Linked DNA regions of Homo sapiens: region 1 is linked to region 2. The links are contacts of gene promoters, found by promoter capture Hi-C in blood cells and fetal thymus (Javierre and others, 2016). All regions are on one chromosome and are shown on one strand. The core of a region is centred on a gene start or on the middle of the fragment in contact, and the rest is flanking DNA. Distances in the headings are between cores, read along the strand shown.

Evidence for each region. Contacts are between HindIII fragments. The CHiCAGO score rates a contact against its expected background, and 5 or more counts as called.
Region 1: a contact is called between a fragment that was not itself captured here and the fragment with the promoter of ZNF621 in region 2, in 1 of 17 cell types (megakaryocytes). The highest score is 5.1, in megakaryocytes.

Annotation. Positions count from the first base shown.
Region 1 is chr3:40,324,922-40,331,893 of GRCh38, forward strand. No RefSeq gene overlaps it. Among named protein-coding and RNA genes, the nearest start is that of EIF1B, 19 kb to the left of the region's middle. The HindIII fragment of the contact is 1,671 bases long and covers 3,888-5,558 here.
Region 2 is chr3:40,521,663-40,527,733 of GRCh38, forward strand. ZNF621 (zinc finger protein 621) reads left to right here and starts at 3,298. Exons shown (of 5, transcript NM_198484.5): 1 at 3,298-3,612; 2 at 4,117-4,202. The coding sequence starts at 4,179. RefSeq lists enhancers at 2,900-2,989, 3,268-4,080, 3,640-3,779 and a silencer at 3,180-3,339. The HindIII fragment of the contact is 8,303 bases long and covers 2,299-6,071 here.

The DNA.
Region 1 (6,972 bases), core at 3,473-5,972, 200 kb before region 2:
AAACAGAACTACCATTTGACTCAGCAATCCCATTACTGTATGTTCATTCAAAAGCAAGCAAATCATTCTACCGAAAAGACACATACACTCACATGTTCACTGCAGCACTATTCACAATAGCAAAGTCATGGAATCAACCTAGGTGCCCATCAACAGTGGATTGGATAAAGAAAATGTGGCATATATACACCATGGAATACTATGGAGCCATATAAAAGAATGAAATCATGTCCTTTGCAACAACATGGATGCAGCTGGAGGCCATTATCCTAAGAAAATTAAAGCAGGAACAGAAAACCAAATACCACATGTTCTCACTTATAAGTGGGAGCTAAACATCAGGTACTCATGGCATAACGATGGCAGCAATAGACACTGGGGACTACTAGAGTAGGGAGGAAGGGAGAAGGGCAAGGGTCAAAAAACTAACTGTTGGGTACTGTGCTCAGCACCTGAGTGACAGAATTATTTGTACCCCAAACTTCAGCATCACACAGTATACCCAGGTCACAAACCTGCACTTGTACCCCCTGAATCCAAAATAAAAGTTGAATAGGAAAAAATAAAATAAAATAAAGTTCTGTAATGATACTTTAACACAAACTTTTTCTGTAAATATTAATAGTAAATATTTTAGGCTCACAGGTTGTATGATCTCTGCTGCAAATACTCAACTCTGCCATTGAAGCAAGAAACTGCCATAGAGTATATAAATGAATGAATGTGGCTGTGTTCCAATAAAACTTTATTTATAGACACTAAAATTGCAATTTTATATAATTTTCAGATGTCACAAAATACTATTCACCTTTTGATTTTTTTTCACTAACCATTTTTAAATGGGGGATAATTCCTTTCTTAACTATAGTTAACTATACTTTTTGGACCACATGAAAACAATAGGTAGGACAGAATTTAGTCTGAGATCCACAGTTTTCTGACCCTGGATTTAATGTGACACAGGAATCATGGCACTTGAAGGAACCACACACTGAACCAAGAACTTTTGATTAAGCAGCTCATTCCAATTAAAATAGTATTTGCAGCACCACAGTTGGCCTCAGGTTTTAACCTGAAGCCCCTAAAAGTAGGTTAGCCCAGTAACAGTGGATAAAAGCCTATTTAGAGAGACATTTCCAAAGCATGCCAGAGAGAGACCTGAGTTAGAGGCCACTTGGCCTTAAGGTCCTTGGATATTTTCCCCAGGTGGTCAGGGCCATGTTAGTACCTGTGTCCGAGGACCGAAATTGCCTCCATGGATTCCAGAGTTGCAACACACATCCTTGTTCAATTTAGAGAGGGAGAGAAAAAAATAAAACATCATTCAGAATTGCCTTTTTGACACAGGCAGTGTTGGTGTCATGAGGACTTTTTGCTAAAAGGCCTAGATTCTGTCCTGGCTCTGCTGTCAGCTCCTGTGACCAGGAGACGCTCTAAGCCCTGACTGCCCAGTCAAAATCCTGGTGCTGTTGATTTCTAGCTGTGCCATATTAGAAATCAAAAAGCCTCAGTTTGTTGATTTCTAACAAACTGAGAGATACCTCCATTTCCATATATATAAAGTGGAGATATATCTCCCAAGCCTCTGTTTCCATACCTATAAAGTGGAGATGATGATGATAGCCTCAGGGACTCATTGTGGGGATTTTATTGCATAGTGCTTTGCACATAATATGCATTTAACAAATGTTAGCTTTTCATTATTACATATCAAGGGAGAAAACATTGGTCATGCTATCTTTATGGAAATCAAAGAGGAAAGGATATGAAAATGTGAAAGGGTGAGATCTAATGTGGAATTTCAATCGTCTTTTTACAAGCAGAGCTGTGGAACCCTGGGACTAACCCTTTGTAGTTATAGCTCCATTTTTTTTTTTTTGGCAACTTTTCTCTTTTTTTTTTTCTTGATCAGTGTTGCCAGAGGCTTATCAGTTTTTATTCTTTCATCTTTTCAAAAAACCAACCTCTAGCTTTAGTGATTCTTCCTATTACATGCTTATTTTCTGTTTTATTAGTTTCTTCCCTTATGAGTTTTCTTCCTCCTACTTTCTTTGCATATTCTTTTTGTAACTTCTCAATTTAGTTGCTTAGCCCATTAACTTTTAACTTCTTTTCGAATGTAAGCACGTAAGGATGTAAATTTCCCTTGCGCAGCCTGCAGATTTTGATATTTAGTATTTTTGTTAACATTCACGTGCAAACATTTTCTTTTCTTTCTTTCTTTCTTTTTTTTTAGACGGAGTCCCGCTCTGTCGCTCAGGCTGGAGTGCAGTGGAGCGATCTCAGCTCACTGCAAGCTCCGCCTGCCGGGTTCACGCCATTTTCCTGCCTCTGCTTCCCGAGTAGCTGGGACTACAGGCGCCCGCCACCACGCCCGGCTAATTTTTTGTATTTTTAGTAGAGACAGGGTTTCACCGTGTTAGCCAGGACGGTCTCGATCTCCTGACCTCATGATCCGCCCGCCTCGGCCTCCCAAAGTGCTGGGATTACAGGCGTGAGCCACCGCGTCCGGCCTACATACAACCATTTTCTAATGCCTGTTTAATAAGGTGTCCTCCACTCCTTGGGGAGCTCTGTGGTCTATCGCCCTGCTCAAAGCCTTCAGAAATACGCAGTGCTGTTGGCATCCTCCTCAACCTTGTTCGTTTTCACTACTTGTGGCAAAACTAATTCAAATATTACATGTGGATATAATTAGGTGTTAACTGATTTCCTTGAAGACAGCATTAACTTTCCACTTTCTCATTATCTTGGGTGTTTCTATGCCTCACAGTGTGGCAGGGATATTTTTACTCTGCTTTAGTTAACCGCAAATCCACAGGTGTGTTTTGTACTTTCACTAGTTGAAAACTGGTAGATGCAGTACTCACACATGGCCAAGAGATGGTGCTATTGACCCATTTAGGTCCAGCCTTTATGTTTTGTATGCTGTAGTCATCTAATTTGCTTGCTTGTCTTTGAGTTTGTTTCAGAGAAAAGGTCCAACATCAGAAGAGTTGAGAGGTTATATGATACTGGCTAAACTCTTAGATCCTCTAGGCACTCAAGAAAAAAACATAACAAATAAAAACTCTGGTTTTAAAGATGCAGAGAAATGTCTGGCAATGCACCCTCAGGGGACCTCTCATTCCAGAAGTCTAGAAACCTCCCAGAAGGAAGAAGCACTTGCTTTCCTGTGTCCCTATGTTTGCGAAAGCTACTCAGCCATTCCCTGGAGAGGTTTCTCTTGGTGCAGTCTCTCAGCTGACGTTTTGGATCACAAATGAGCAGTCCGCACATAACTCAATTTCAAGAGTTAAAAATCTTAGCCTTTAGTTGGGAACAATTTTCCAACAAACAGGATGTGGAAGTGATGTTATCTGAGGGAAGACATGGTGCCTCTGAGCTGTTAGACCTTTCCAAACTACACATATGCCTGGCCTGTGTTCACAAGTATACACACACACACACACACACCCGCCCCCCCCCCACACACACACTCATTCCCCTTCTCTCTCTCAAGTGACCTGATCTCCAATCCCTCTGCAGCCTCCTGAGGGCTTCTTATTCTTTAATATGAATGAGAGTCACCAGGCAAGTTTATTAAAATGCAGATTCCAACTCAGGAGGCCTGGAGTGGCCCAAGGCTCTGCATTTTTAACAAGCTCCCAGGGGATACCGGCCATCTGGGTTTGCAGGCCACATTCTGAGGAGTAGAGGTTCGTGGCAGTGCAGAGTGGCATAATGACAGGCATCAATGTGGTTGATTCAGAGATGCCCCAGTGTTACCGGATCAAACCCAGGGTCGGGCTGCTTATTCTCAAGGCCCAGTAATGAGATGCAGATGAACTGGGAGAGAAGAGAATTTATTTCTGTAACCGGGTAGGCAGACCAACTTAAAATTACAAAGCTTTCCATTGTTTATATACCTTCTAAGCTATATGTCTATGTGTAAGTGCATTCATCTAAAGACATAAGTGGTTAACTTCTCCTAATATAACTAAGGTCTGAGTTTTGAAGACCTTTCTCTGGAGCCTCAGTAAATTTACTTAATCTAGATGGCTCCAGGTGCCGGAGTGATTACCCTTATCTCGTCTCCTGCTAAATCATGGAGGTTTGAGGAGTTCCTTTAGACCATCCTCCCCACCCCCCTGCCCAGTAAAACTTGTTTGTGGAGGTCTGGGGAGTTTCTTCAGACCCCCAATAAAACTTGTTTAATCCTACATGGGTCCTGTTAAGAATTCCTTCGTTATCGTGTCAGGCTTCAAGGCCCAGGAAAGGCCTAGGCAAAACTCTTGGTGGGCTTTGTTACATTCCAGCCTTTGCATAAGGAGACTGGCTCTATTAGCTTTTAATATTTAACCTAACCACTCAGTCAGTGCCGCAACAGTTGTCATGGAGGCTTGCCTGTTCAGCTGTTAGTGAGACCTGGCCTGCCATGCCAGGACTCAGAATCAGAAGCCCTGGATTCAGATTCGGGCTCTACCACTTTCCAGCTTTATGGCCTGATCAAGCCAAAGCCAGCCAGTCTCTCACAGCCTCAGTTTTCTCAGCAGCAACTTAAGGATAATTGTGCCTCGGATCAGAATGACTATTCTCGGCACAAAATGAGATGATGTGTATGGCATCAAATTCAATGCCTTGCCATAGAAAGTGCTTGGTTATGCTTTTTAGGAAATGTGAGACTTACGCATAAAATGGCAATGTGAATACTGGAGTTGAACACCTGGAGCTACTTCTAGTGCCTCATGGAAATGACCTATGGAATCATTTTCTAAACTTCCTTGATCATTAAAATTACCAGGACACTGTGAAAAACACAAACTCTTAAGACCTGTCATCTCCCAGATCCTGAACTCGAATCTCTGTGGAGGAGAGGGGCTTACATTTCTAACAAGTGCTCAGAAGGATTCGTGAGATCAGGCATGTTTGAAACACTAGCCTACAGAATATAAAAATATGGAAAAACCTGCCTTCATTCTGGAAACTAGAAAAAGGTACCCTGTATCTGTCTGAAACAGCAGCATTTTTCTGTTATCTATCATAAGGATGGGGCCAAAGGCAGCCTAGAAAGACAGCTCCAACACTCTAGTGAAAGATGGAAGTAGGAGAAAGTGGGGAAGACCAGTCACCAAACAGACCCCTACAAAGCCCTTGACTCAGAGGGCTGCAGGCAGGCCTGGAGGGGCCTCCAGGCTTCCATCCAAGGGGTATCTGCACTCCTGGAAGGCAGGGAGTGGGGCTTCCTGCTTGGCAACAGGGGAAACCACATGCACTGAAACCCTCATCTGGGGTCTGCTTCTCCTGGGAGGATGAATATAGGGAGGAAAATCAGCAGGATCACGAAGACATTACAATGTTGTGCACACCAAAATTTAACATAAGAATTCCCTTCCCTCTAGCAATTCACTTCTGGGAATTTATGACAAGTAAACAATCAAGCCGTGGGACAAAATTGAATGCATTCAGATGTTCAATGCACTATTGTTTATAACACTGAAAATTTTGAAACAACAGGAGAATGGTTAAATCAATGAGAACTGAAAAGGATTTAGGCAGGCAAAGAGTGGGAGGTGGCAAGCTTCAGAAGGAGGGCTTGGCAAACGCAAAGTCTTCCCGTGAGAAAGCAGTGGACCTGAGTGATTGGAGCACAGGATGGGGACATAGGTTGGCATGAGAGGAGTGAAGCTGAGAAGCAAGCCAATTAGACAGGGCCTCACAGACCATGGCAAGATGCATGAATGCTATCTGAGGGCATTGATGAGTTCCAAGCATGGGAGCAGAACAATTGGATTTATTCTAAGAAGCTGATTATGGCTGTTAGTCAGAGAGAGGAACGTACAGAAAGCAAGAGCAGAGGCGAAAAGGCCAATGAGAGGCTACTACACGTGGAATGATGGTGGTAAAGAGGCAGAGAAGTGGGTGGACAAGAGACTCGCTTGGAGATAGAATTAACAGGACTTGCTGTTGTGTTGGCCATAAGTGGCAAGGAAAAGATGACTTCCAGGATTTTATCTTTGGAAATTGGGTGGCTGGGAGTGACATTATTAAAATGAGGGAGGCTGGGGTAGAAAGACAGGATTGAGGAGTGGAAACAAGAATTCCATTTTGAACATGTTGAATTTTTTTTTTTTTAATAGAGACAGGGTCTCACTATGTTGCCCAACTGGTCTTAAAATCCTGGGCTCAAATGTTCCTCCCACCTCAACCTCCCAAAGTGCTGGGATTACAGGTGTGAGACATCACACCTACCCTGAACATGTTAAGTTTTAAATGCCTAAGAGACATCCAATCAGAGATGTCAAGCAACTAGTTGGATTTGTAAGTCTGGAGCTCAGAGAAGACATAAATTCAGGAGGTATCAGCCCATAGAATATTTTTAAAGCCATGAATGAATGAGTTTCTTTAGGAATGTATAAAGAGGGCCCAGAAGAAATCCATATGGAACACTAAAAACGCTAGTTTTGAAGAAGTATATCTGGTGTGACATCATTTTGGTTAAAAAACAAAGCCCCAAAATTCCATCATAACATAAACGCAGAAGATATCTGCATAAATAAATATTCATCTAACGGTTTATGGGGGTTATCTCTGGATAGTTGGGAGCAAAACGCTCATTGACACCCATGAAAGTCAGGTCTATGCCCAAGAACCTTTTTGCACCTGGTCTTTCCCAAATGGCTGCTTAAGGGACCCAGGAGGAGGAGCCTGGAAGTTATGGTGCCCGATTTGATGATGAACCTAGGAGAAGCCACTCTGCATTTGTTACCCAAGGGAATAGGAGGAATGGGAGGGCTTTCATTTTCTCAGTTGTATATTTCTGTCAACATTAAAACTTTTATAAAGAACATCATTATTACTTTTGTAGATAGAGAAAAACAATAAATAAAATTATTTTAAATGGTGGCATCCATTGTTGGTGAAGCCACTGTACAGTGGAAACGCACATCTCTTTGGAGAAAATGTGAATTGGTATGACTTTCTGAAATGACA
Region 2 (6,071 bases), core at 2,048-4,547:
ATAGTGTGTTTTTAGGGAAAGCTAATCTCTCTGGCATTGATCAGGTGAGAGACATTCAGCTCCAGAGAGTTTAATTTTGCTGTTAGGTGAACCGACTCACAATTGCAAAGTCTGAAGTTTCCCATATCTTTTGGTTCACTTTTGCCCTTTAGCTTCCTCTAGGCAGCACTGCCTATAGTTTGCTTCTGTTGAGGCTGTTCTGGAAAAGAATGGGCCTCTTGTAGCATGGTCCCAATTTTCTCCTCTGACTGCTCATGATTCCTGTCATGGTTCCAACCTGGGGATTTTAGGCACTTAGTCTTGCCTACCAAAACTTTCATCTCTTCTCTCTGCACCATAATACCAAATGGAGGAGTTACATGTCCAATCTTGTTCCCTCTAGTTAATTCAAATTAGAACTAATTGTAATAACTGTCTGATACTCTAGAGTTTGTGGTGTAAAAATGTGTACATGTATGTACACCAATATATGTGTGTCCATTTCTCTAGATTCATGGTAGATACTCTTTTTGATAGGCTTAGAGAAGGGGCAGTGTATAAATATATGTTCTAATGCTATTGTTCTTGGAAATCTAATTCATCTATTTAAAACAATTGTGCTTCATAAATGTTACAATAAAAGTACTATAGATTATAGAAAGGACTGTTTCTGTGGTAGGTAAAAAATGTGTTTAGCCAGCTCCCAAAATGGTCCCCAGTGATTCTCATTCTGGCATTCACACCCTTGTGTATCCAACACTGAATCATGACTGGCCTGTGATGATAGTATATTGAGGAAATGACAGAGTGTGACTTCCAAAGCTAGGACATAAATGATATTGCCACTTCTGCCTTGACCTCTTGGGTTACTCACCTGAGATGGAAGTGGAAGTCTGCTCCTGTGTTGTGAGGATACTCAGCCATGTACAGATACGCGGTGTGCGAAGGGAGGCTTCTTTTTCTTTTCTTTTCTTTTTTTTTTGAGACAGTCTTGCTCTATATCCTGGGCTGGAGTGCAGTGGCGGGATCTTGGCTCACTGCAACCTCCGCCTCCTGGGTTCAAGTGATTCTCCTACCTCAGCCTCCCAAGTAGCTGGGGTTACAGGTGCCCGCCACCACGCCCAGCTAATTTTTGTATTTTTAGTAGAGACAGGGTTTCGCCATGTTGGCCAGGGTGGCCTCAAACTCCTGACCTCAGGTGATCTGCCTGCCTTGGCCTCCCAAATTGCTGGGATTACAGGTCTGAGCCACTGCACCCGGCGCAGGAAGGGAAGTTTCACACTAATAGCTGGCATCTATGTGCCAACCATGTGAGTGAGTTACCTTTGAGGCAAATCCCCAGCCTCAGTCCAACTTTCAAGTGACTGCAGTCCCAGGTGACACCTGACTAGACCCTCATGAGAGATCCCAAGCCAGTACCATCCAGCCAAGCCACTCCCGAATTCCTCATCCACAGAACCTTTTTTTTTTTTCCTTTTTCTCTTTTTAGGACTGACTGACTATGTTCACTGATTCATAGAAACTTTAAGAGATAATAAGTGTGTTTTGTTTTCAGCCATAAGGTTTTAGGGTGATTTGTTATGCAGCAGTAGATACCTAAGATACTCTCCATAATAGGACTTCATAAGTCAGTCTAATTCTTAAGAAAGGAATAACAAATCCAAGAAGTGGGACCCCTGTAATAAAGCAATATATCTAGATATCCAGGATCATTTTTTATCTTTTAGTGGTGGGAGACCAATTCCCCTTTATAGCATGGAAATGCTTGGTGGTGAGGAGCCTGGTATCTGGAACTGTGTTCAGGAGAAGTTATCAGCGTGATTAAAGTAAAACAAAGTCTGGGCCGGGCGCGGTGGCTCACGCCTGTAATCCCCAGCACTTTGGGAGGCCGAGGTGCACGGATCACAAGGTCAGGAGATCGACACCATCCTGGCTAACACGGTGAAAACCCGTCTCTACTAAAAATACAAAAAATTAGCTGGGCGTGGTGGCGGGGTGCCTGTAGTCCCAGCTACTCGGGAGGCTGAGGAAGGAGAATGGCGTGAACCCAGAAGGCAGAGCTTGCAGTGAGCCGAGATTGCGCCATTGCACTCCAGCCTGGGCGACAGAGCGAGACTCCGTCTCAAAAAAACAAACAAACAAAAAACAAGCAAAAAAAAAAAAAACAAAGTCTGTCCATCTTAGCAACCACTTTGATACTGGAGAAAGGCTCCTGTCCAGAAGGAAGGGCACAGTAGTGAGGTACTTGCCAATGAGCTGGGTAGAGCTGCCACTGGCTGGCTTCGGGAAGTGTTTATCACTGACTGGCTCATGTTCAGAAGCTTGGAGTGAGGCTGTTGTGTACTGGTTGATTTTCAGAGTACGTGTACTGATCTAAAATTATGTAAATTAATGGCAAGTACTTGTTAGTGACTTGGGACTTTGGTCAAAAAACAGTCTTTTCCTTTCCTGAATATGAAAAGTAAGTTCTTTTAATTAGCAGCCTCCCCTCTTCACTGTTTTTTCTTCCTGCAGTCCAACTAACAGAACAGACCATAAAGGTCTGTCCAGATCATTATTTATGGAAGTATGAGATATATATATTTCAGCTGGTGTTAACATTTTATTTAAGTGCCAGTTACTGAGCAGAAAAATAGCTGTAACTACGAGTTTTTGTAATTTATTGGAAAAAGCTAAATATAAGACATTTAGGGTGTCCTCCCAAAGTCAACACAGGACAAGATCATTTAATATAGGACATGTCCTGTGTATACAGGATGCCTAGCAACTGTATGTAGCCACGGGTGTTTTGGTTGTTAAATGAATCTGTCCTAAAAGGTTCTACGCACATCTAGGTCCTTGGAAGGGAGAGGGCTAAAACGGCGAGTGGAAACCATGGTTTCCCTGAGGACTGCCCAGCTGAGGACCCAAGCAAGATCCTGGGCTTGGGCCTCTTAGAGATGACAAAGCAGGCGCCATTCTCCCCTCACCTGCACGGCCCAGGCTTCAGGTGAGCCACGGGGCCAAGGCGGCCAACAGCTGAGGCGCAGCCCGTGAACTGGGGGCCCACTTGTGCCTAGAGGGCGAGGTCTCGGTAGAGCCAGGCTGTATCAGTCCGTGACACTCCAGCCAGAGGCGATGCCGACGGCTGCCGGAGAAAGCCGGGCTTAGAGCGCCACAGTTCCACGCCCGCCGCCGGCCTCTCAGCCCAGCCGGTCGCCGCAACCTCGCCTCTTCCGCAGGGCGGGGCCAGCCATGAAAGGCGGGGCGGGTCTGGCCACGGGGCGACCGAGATGGCGGCCTCCGGGGGCCTAGAGGGACCCTGGGCGTGCACTCGCCCTTCCGGCTCGGCCTTTAGTTAGTGACCAGCTCCTCGGCGTTCTGCAGAGCGTGGGTTTCAGCGAGTTCTACGTGCCAGGTCCGCCCGGTGCCGGCTTCCTCGCTGCCCCTGGCGGCTCGTCAGCCCCCACTACCCCTGAACTTGGTCCCAATGGCGGCCCGCCCCTCCTTCACCCGGACCGTGGGCATCTGGGCCTCGCCGAAGCCGTCAAGGTGGCTGCTCGGGCTTCTAGAGCCCGTGTCCAGCCCTTTGCCACCGAGGCCTGATCCTCTTTTCTGCCCTAAAGAACTTGCCCTGACAGCCTCTGGCTCCCGGTACTGACGTTTCTGATGTTTGGGGTTGCCTGTTTTCTTGGGTGGAGTGTTAAGATCACGGTTGGGTGGGGTCTCCGGTCAGCATCACCCACTGGGACGCTGAGTATTTTACCCTTAATCCGCATTCAGCCACCCCAGTCCCTCTTCTCCTGAGGTTCTTTCTTTTGGGTCCACGTCATCGTCCCTGTAAGCATTCTGTAAAGACTCTTTACGTTTGTAGAGACCCAACACAATAGGGACAGGGCTCTTGGGTCCCTCAGTTTACCCGTACGAATGGGCTCAAAAAAAGCTCTTCGGACTGAGCAGGCAGGTGGAAGATTGTCCTGAAGACTAGGCAGAACAATTCATAAGAAGTTTGGGGCTATCAGCGTGAGAACAATTAGAGGGAGTCCTAGTAGAATCTCCGTGCATCCAGTGCTGGAAATGTGGAAACTGGGAGGGCCATAGGTTGCTGTAGGTGGTGGACGACAGGGTCCTTAGCACTCATGGCTCTTTTTCTCTTAGCTCTTGAGGATCTTGCTTGTCCAAACCCAGAAGACAGTGCATGAAGCCAGGGGACATCCGCCATGCTCCAAACAACTTGGCCTCAGGTGAGCTGAGCTTCTTTCAGTTTTTTTGTTTGTTTGTTTATGTTTTTTTACTCACATTAGCTATCAGATAATCAGGAAAGGATGAGGAAGGCCTAACTTGGCCAAGCTGTGTTTTCCCCTTTGTATCTATCTCCAGGGCTATGGCAGATGTAAATATGTGCTGGGGAAATGAAAGTTTTGTGTATAGAGAGTGATGAGTTTGGATGTATAGATTTAAATGGAAGAAAGGGGACCTATACCAAGAAATTCTTTCTGAATGTGGAAATCCAGATCGTGTTCTAGAAATGAAAGTCACCTACTGAAATCAGACTCATTTTTTGTGAGACGGAGTCTCACTCTGTCGCCCAAGCTGGAGTGTAGTGGCACTATGATATCGGCTCACTGCAGCCTCTGCCTCCTGGGTTCAAGTGATTCCCATACCTCAGCCTCCTAAGTAGCTGGGATTACAGATGTGCGCCGCCACGTGTGGCTAATTTTTGTATTTTTAGTAGAGACGGGGTTTACACCACGTTGGCCAGGCTGGTCTTGAACTCCTGAGCTCAGGTGATCCACCCGCTTCGGCTTCCCAAAGTGCTGGGATTATAGGCATGAGCCACCGCACTAGCTTGAAATCAGAAATTCTTTATTGGAGAGATTGCCCACAAATTGTATTGTATGTATCCCAGAGAGACTAGTATTGTTGCTTTAATATACATTTTCTAAATGCTAGATGCAAGGACTCTGAAGTTGCAGAGAAAGCTGGATGTACTCTAGAAACTGGAAGGGGTCAGAGAAAGTGGTTCAATATGAGATGGAAGAAATAGATACCTGTATTATAGGTCATGGTGAGGACAGTGGTTTCTGTACTGGTTCATTGGGAAGGCACTGAAGAATTTTAAGCAGGGGGATGACATGGTTGGATTTACATATTAAAAAGATTTTCCTAGCCCTTAGTGGCAAATTGATGGTAGAAAGGTGTTGGTCAATTAAGAAGATATTAAGTGTTGTCCTTTTATTTTTTTTGTTTTTGAGACGGAGTTTCGCCTTTGTTGTCCAGGCTTGAGTGCAATGGCGCTATCTCGGCTCACCGCAACCTCCACCTCCCAGGTTCAGGCAATTCTCCTGCCTTAGCCTCCCAAGTAGCTGGGATTACAGGCATGCACCTGTTTTTTGTTTGTTTGTTTGTTTTTTTGAGATGGAGTCTCACTGCAACACCCAGGCTAGAGTGCAATGGTGCGATCTTCGCTCACTGCAACCTCCACTTCCCTTGTTCAAGTGATTCTCCTGCCTCAGCCTCCCGAGTAGATGGAATTACAGGTGCCCGCCACCACGTCCGGCTAATTTTTGTATTTTTAGTAGAGACGGGGGTTCTCCATGTTGGTCAGCTGATCTCGAACTCCCGACCTCAGGTGATCCGCCTGCCTCAGCCTCCCAAAGTGTTGGGATTACAGGCGTGAGCCACTGTGCCTGGCAAGTGTTGTCCATTTTTAAATTTTTTTTTTTTTTGAGACAGAGTCTCACTCTGCCACCCAGGCTGGAGTGCAGTGGCATGATCTCAGCTCACTGCAACCTCCACCTCCCGGATTCAAGCAATTCTCCTACCTCAGCCTCCTGAGTAGCTGGGATTACAGGTGCACACCACCATGCTGGGCTTATTTTTGTATTTTTAGTAGAGATGGGGTTTCACCATGTTGGCCAGGCTGCATTTTACTTTTTAATGTAATTAATTTATTTGTAGTTTTTATTTTCTGGAGCAGTTTTAGGTTCACAGCAAAATTAAATGGAAGGTACAGAGATTTCCCATATATTCCCTGCCCCTACACATGTATATACAAGTTCTGATAGAAGTTCAAATACAAGTCTGGTATCAGCACAGTAAAATGTCAGTGT